Regions from separate parts of the Homo sapiens genome. Here region 1 is linked to region 2. The links are contacts of gene promoters, found by promoter capture Hi-C in blood cells and fetal thymus (Javierre and others, 2016). All regions are on one chromosome and are shown on one strand. Each heading gives the region's core, a stretch centred on a gene start or on the middle of the fragment in contact. The rest is flanking DNA. Distances are from core to core; before and after follow the strand shown.

Region 1 (3,339 bases), core at 403-2,902, 110 kb after region 2:
CATCTAATTAGGAACTCTAGTGATAAGCAGATAGGATCGGGGGTGATTAGAATCCTTTTAAAAAGCCACTCCATTAATTACAGAGACAGAGAGGGGCCTCTGGCTGCTCCGAATACCAATTGGCTGCTTAATCGGCTCCATCAGCTCGCCCGGGGGAGACCTTCCTGGTACTGCTGTGTGACCTTCGGTGTGCCCTGCCCTCTCTGGGCCTCGCTTGGTCGCTGAAGGTCCTTCTCTCCCTGGCCATGGCTCGGGGTTGGCTTTAGGGTGGGCCTGAGATGAGGGACATGGGACATCTGAGGCCAGGAAGCCTAGGCTGGCTCCCCAGAGAGGGCAAATCCCCAAAAGCACCCACTGGTGAATGAGGACAGAGAGGCTTGAAGAGGGGAGGTGGCCTGACAGAATTGACGGTGGAGCGTGTGGGGCCTAAGTGTGCGCTCATGCCTGTGTGTCCCTGTCCCTCCAGCAGGCCCTATGGAGGCCTCAGAGCCCCTGATGCTCCCCACTGGCTCCCCAAAAACTGGCGTGGAAGGAGACTAGCCTGAACCCTTTGCAGAAGGGAAACTCCTCTGCACACTGCCCGGCTCCACGGTCCACAGCTCCCTTCATGGGGAGCTCCCCACAGGGGCCTCCATCTCAGGATGCCCTTGATGGTGAGGTGTGGGACCTGCTCCCAGGTGACACACCTGTTCCCGTAAGTCCTACCGAGTGGTCTGTTCTGTGTGCCCTAAGACAGCCCTGAATGGGCGGCAGTGAGGGGGTCTCCAGCCCTGTCTCCATCCTGGCTGACTCCCACAGACCCATCCCAGGAACAAGGGTTGGAGCAGGGCAGTGGCTGGAAGAAATTTCCCCTGGGAGTACAACGCAGACCAGAGCCAGGGTCTCCAACAAGGCAGGGAGGGCCAGGACGGGGAGGCGGCCACAGGATTCTTGGATGCCTCATCATACTAGGTCCTTTGTCTCTTAACATTGTTTTCACCACCCCTCCTCCACTGTCCTGATTCCATCGTCATGGAAACTTCAGGCTTCACCTTTACAATGTCAGGCCACCAACACCCTCAGCAGTGTCACCATCACCATCAACACCCCAGCGTCCCATCCCCATCTCCTCTACCACTGCCACCAGCCCCACTATCACTATCATCTCTGTCACCGTCACCACGGTGCTCTCCACCCGTGTCAGCATTGTGTCACCACCACATCACTGTCACCACACTTCCTCCACCTCCATCTCCACCCACCATCCCATCTGTGACATCACCTTATCAGCTCTGCCACCAGTATCAACCACTCACACCGCCTTTGCCATCACCACCGTCATTGCCCCCTCTACTACCACCACCATCACCACCACCGGGTCTGCCTCAGCCAGACCCACCACTGCCTCTAATTAGACTGCCACCATCATCACTGCCACCACCACTGCCCCTCCAATGCCTTCCTGATGTCACCATCTGCTTTCTCTCTGCTATCCTCACACCCAACTCCATCACAACCACCACCTTCATCTGAGCCGCCATCACCCTCACAGTACACAGCCCTCAAATGTGTACCAAGGAGGAGGACATTTACTACACGCTGCACCCTGAACAGTCTGGGACCAGCGGTCAGGGAACAAGGAATCGAGATGCTCACCTGCAGCTCCCAGGTGAGCGGCTCTCTAGAGCTTGCCTGGGAGCTGCTGAGGAGCTCACGGTATTCCAGGAAGCTCCCCATCCATGCCTCAGCCTGTGGCTCAGAAGCAGGGTCTTCGCAGAAGATTGCCCCGAGCTGTTGCAAAGCTCACCATTGTCACCTGCCTGCAACGGCCTCTCTTTTCCACTCTCCAAATCCCTTGTATTGGCAGGCTCTAGTCTGGAATTATACCGGTGATGGGATTCTGGAAAATCCCTCAGATTTCTCCAGGATGCAAGGAGACCATGGAAGAGGTTGGTGTAATGCCAAGTTAGCAACAGAAAATACAGAGCCCCACACCTCAGTGCCATCACCATCGCCATCGGCACTCACACCAGCATGTCCACCACTGTGTCCTTCTCACCCCTCGGCACCCCCCTCTACCATTGCCTCTTCCACAACCACCCTCACCACCATCCTCCATTAATAGCACAATTCCTGCCTCCTATCCCATCACCACCACGGGTGTCCCCGGCACCAGCAGCACCAACACTGCTCCCAGCAGAGCCATCGTTACCAGCCCCGCTGTCAGTCCCATCTTGAGCATCTGGCATATGTTGGAGAACTGCTCACTCCCTCTTCCCCATGGGAATCTCAGGCCTCTCTTCCTATTGCCCTGAGATTTGCAGAACCTTCCTGAAGGAAACATTCTTTGCCCCATGGATACTGGCCTTGACCATGGGATGCAGCAAGACTGCCACACATCATGGCCCAACAGAAGCTTTCAGAGGCAGCCCAAGTTCCTGCTGTCTCTGAGTGGCACTGTCATGAGAGAGGGGTGTGCAGGTCAGAGCTGATTCTCCAGCCTGGGACCCACAGTGAGAAGCTATGGGAGGTGGGGCCCTGGCAGCTGCCTGTAGGCACCAGTGAGTGAAGTGGGGGGAACTAGATGTTTGTCGTGAGCCACTGAGAGGTGGAAGCTGTCACTGTGGTATAGCCGAACAAGATACAACCTCTGCTACCTCCACCACCTTCACCTTCATCATCACCATTACTGTCACCACTGCCAACCACACCAATGGCTCACTAGGAGCCATTCCCATCACCTCCTCATCATACCTGCACCATCACTGCCAACCACAACAAAGGCTCGCTGTTACCATCTCCTCTGGCATGACCATCACCACCACCACTACCATCATCAATTACTCTCAAGCACAAGCCTTGCTGCTGTCACCACCAGCATCACCATCATCATGATCAACTCCACCATCACCCATAATTACTCTCCCCCTCACACCCACCATGACCATTACCTCCACATCAACACTGCTCCCATGGTCACCTCTACTATATAATGACACCTTATCCATCTCCATGGACACCCACCGTGCCTCTCCCCACCAGCAACACAGTCAACAGCAGTGCCTCTCCCACTGCCACCGCCATCATGGAGAACTGTGCAGGGCAAGCATCTTTCTCCCGCCCCAGGAACAAGCCTGCAAGGGACAGCAGGTGCTAACTGCTAACCGAGACATAGTGACAAAAATCCAGCCACAGAGATAAAGAATCAGGTTCATCTGTAGCTACATCCAGTGGAGAAGTTCTGCTCTTCAACTCCTCTGCTAAGCCACATGTGTCAGCAGGTGTAGGTGGGTGGATGCCCAGCATGGGGGTGCGAGTCGTGCTTTTGATAAGCTGCATGGAGGGACAGCGATGGTCACT
Region 2 (3,201 bases), core at 201-2,700:
AGGAGGATGGCTTGAGGCCAGAAGTTCAAGACTAGCCTGGGCAACATGGCGAGACCCTGTCTCTGCAAAAAATAAAAAAAAAAAGCTGGATGTGGTGGCGCCCACCTATAGTCCCAGCTACTCAGGAGGCTGAGGTGGGAGGGTCACTTGAGCCCAGGAGGTGGAAGCTGCAGTGAGCTATGATTGCACCTCTGCACTCCAGCCTGGGTGACAGAGCGAGACCCTGTCTCCAGCAAACAAATAAATAAAACAAGTGGCACAGAGCAAGCTGGCCAATCCTGGTAGTGCTGGCTAATGGTTAGTGCAGAGGGGGCAGTCTCGGTGGCTGACTTGGAGCCATCCTACAAAAATGAGGGAGGTACCTATAGAAATAGGGTCAGCTTCCCCATCCTCCACCAGACTCCAGAATTCTTCCTCAGCCTCCTGCATTAGTGGTGATGAAAAACCGATGCAGGGATGCAGGGGTGGAGTGAGCAAGCCGAGACCAGCCTGGTGCCCAGGGTCAGGAGCCTGCTCTTTTGAGCCTCAGTCCCCTGTGTGTCCACAGGAAGCACAGTGCCTGCTGCCTGGGGGGGCCTGAAGACACAGGATGGGTCCCCGTTGTGGAGGTGCCCGGGCAGCACCTGCATATAGCAGGTGCTCACTGTTGGTGTTGGCATGGTGGCACAGAGCAGAGGTGGAAAGCAATGTGCCGCCTGCAGACAGGCTTTTGTGACCTACCCCGTGTCTAGAAATGTATCTTCTGAGTTACTAACAAGGAAAAATGTGGCCACACAAGGTCCACCTTACTTCAAGGCATGGCAGGCTGGGTAGAGCAGTGCTGCCCTTGGAGATGGCACAGGGTCCCCCCTGCCTGCACCCCTGGGTTCTCCTCCACCTCCTGCCACTCCCCCTTTGTACACCAGCTGGTGACACTCAGTCACAAGCTTTCGTTGGCTCCTGAGACATTTGAGGTTGAGAGCTCTGGGACCTGGAGCAGACTCGGGTTTGCATCCCACCACTTCATTCGCGACCTGTGTAGTCAACCTTGCTGAGCCTCAGCGTCCTTATCTGTAAAATGGGACTCACGATCTTCACCAAATGAAAACAAGCATACATCACCTGCCCCTGAACCTGGAAGAGAGAGCGGATTCCCAACCAAAGAGAAGACACATTGCTGAGGCTGCCTCACCATGGCTCACTGCTGACAGCATGGTGTGCACTCCACAGGGCTCAGCTTTCCCCGTGGGTGGGCAGCGTGACCCGGGCAAGCAGGCAGGGCTGCCAGGGCCTTGGCCTCGGCCCAGCACGGAGCGGGCAGGGGCTGTGGCCAAGGGTCTCTGGAGGAGGCCACGTCTCTGCAGAGGAGACCCCTCCTGAAACACCCTCCAAGCTGGAAGCTGGCCCCTCAGAGGGGAAAACAGGTGCCGTGGGCGACTCTGAGCTCCCCACTGTAAATTAATCCACCCGAGCAATTGGGAACAGAAAGTGCTTCCTGTCCCGGCCTGAGACAATGGACAATAAACCCAGCCTGCTGGGCCCCGGCCCCTGACCCCAAGGCTTCAGGAAGAGGCTCCCACACGCACACACCTGCGGTGTGTGAAGCTCGCATTGTTCTGGGCTCATGGCCGAGTAGGGCCCCTTGCTCTCAGGAGCCTCCAGCTCTTTCTGGACCTGAGCCCTGGGAGCCTTCACTCTGCCCAGATGTGCTTCCTGTGGAAGGAGACCCCCAGATGACACAGGTGAGCAAGCGTCCTTGGGTTCGGGTTCATTTGATGCGTATTCTTGAAGCCCCTACCACGCACGGGGTCTGCACACCAGCAGCACAGTACAAAGCCTTTCCAGAAAGGCTGTGGTCTCACACCTAGCACCAGACAGCACACGGGCCTGCCCTTCTCCTCCTAGCACACAGACAGGGCCATATACATCCTGCTGGGGAAGGCCCGGTGGAGGCGGCTCCTTGGAGTGAAAGGCCCTGAAATGCCAGAGGCTCCTGGGATGTGAGGTTCCTTCTGGATTTCTGAGGCTGATAACTGAATACTCTCGACTCGAATAGATGATGAGCTTGTGGAACATCGTGTGCATGTGCACGCCACCACGAAGTTAGTAATCAATCTTGCTTGCTGGGGCCATGTGTGTGTCCACATTTTGTCTTTTAATTTTTTTTGAGATGGAGTCTTGCTCTGTCACCCAGGCTGGAATGCAGTGGCATGATCTTGGCTCACTGAAACCTCTGCCTCCCGGTTCAAGCAATTCTCCTGCCTCAGCCTCCTGAGTAGCTGGGATTACAGGTATGCGCCTCCATGCCCAGCTAATTTTTGTATTTTTAGTAGAGATGGGGTTTCACCATGTTGGCCAGGCGGGTCTTGAACTACTGACCTCACGATCTGCTCACCTCAGTCTCCTAAAGTGCTGGGATTACAGGCATGAGCCACTGCGCCTGGCCTCTTGTCTTTTAATTTTATTTTGAGTTGGGGTCTCACTCTGCCACTCCGATTGGAGTGCAGTGGTGCTATCATAGCTCACTGCAGCCTCAACCTCCTGGGCTAAAGCAATCCTCCCACCTCAGCCTCCTGAGTAGCTGGGACTACAGGCATGCACTGCCATTCCTGGTTAGGTTTTAAACATTTTTGTAGAGATGGGGTCTTGCTACGTTGCCTGGGCTGGTCTGAAACTCCTGGGCTCAAGTGATCCTCCCACCTCGGCGTCCCAAATTGCTGGGATTACAGGCATGAGCCCCACACCCACCTCAATGTCTTTTAAAGTCATTAAAAGACAATTATTTTGTCTTTTTTTTTTTGAGACAGAGTCTCTCTCTGTCGCCCAGGCTGGAGTGCAGTGGCACGATCTCGGCTCACTGCAAGCTCCACCTCCCGGGTTCACGCCATTCTCCTGCCTCAGCCTCCTGAGTAGCTGGGACTACAGGCACCCGCCACCACAGCCGGCTAATTTTGTTTTTGTATTTTTAGTAGAGATGGGGTTTCACCGTGTTAGCCAGGATGTTCTCGATCTCCTGACCTCATGATCCGCCCGCCTTGGCCTCCCAAAGTGCTGGGATTACAGGCGTGATCCACTGCACCCGGCCTCATTTTGTCTTTTAATGAATAATGGACTAGCACAGCCTTAGAGAAGGAAAGAGCAGAGGTTCTATGTCCAGTCAGTGGGGAACTGGGAGATTCATTCCGAAAGGCTTTGAGGAGGAACCGGGCCCGGGTCACTCTT

Evidence for each region. The method cuts DNA at HindIII sites, captures the fragments that hold promoters and counts their contacts. A CHiCAGO score of 5 or more calls a contact.
Region 1: the fragment with the promoter of DNAJB8 here is called in contact with the fragment with the promoter of LINC01565 in region 2 in 1 of 17 cell types (endothelial precursors); the score reaches 7.2 in endothelial precursors.

The regions. Positions count from the first base shown.
Region 1 is chr3:128,465,203-128,468,541 of GRCh38, reverse strand. It overlaps DNAJB8 (DnaJ heat shock protein family (Hsp40) member B8), which reads left to right and starts at 1,652. Exons shown (of 3, transcript NM_153330.6): 1 at 1,652-1,928; 2 at 3,106-3,266. The region is part of intron 2 of DNAJB8-AS1 (DNAJB8 antisense RNA 1); the gene reads right to left. The HindIII fragment of the contact is 7,883 bases long and covers 1-2,397 here.
Region 2 is chr3:128,574,335-128,577,535 of GRCh38, reverse strand. LINC01565 (long intergenic non-protein coding RNA 1565) reads left to right here and starts at 1,450. Exons shown (of 3, transcript NR_125802.1): 1 at 1,450-1,721; 2 at 2,150-2,270. The HindIII fragment of the contact is 3,021 bases long and covers 929-3,201 here.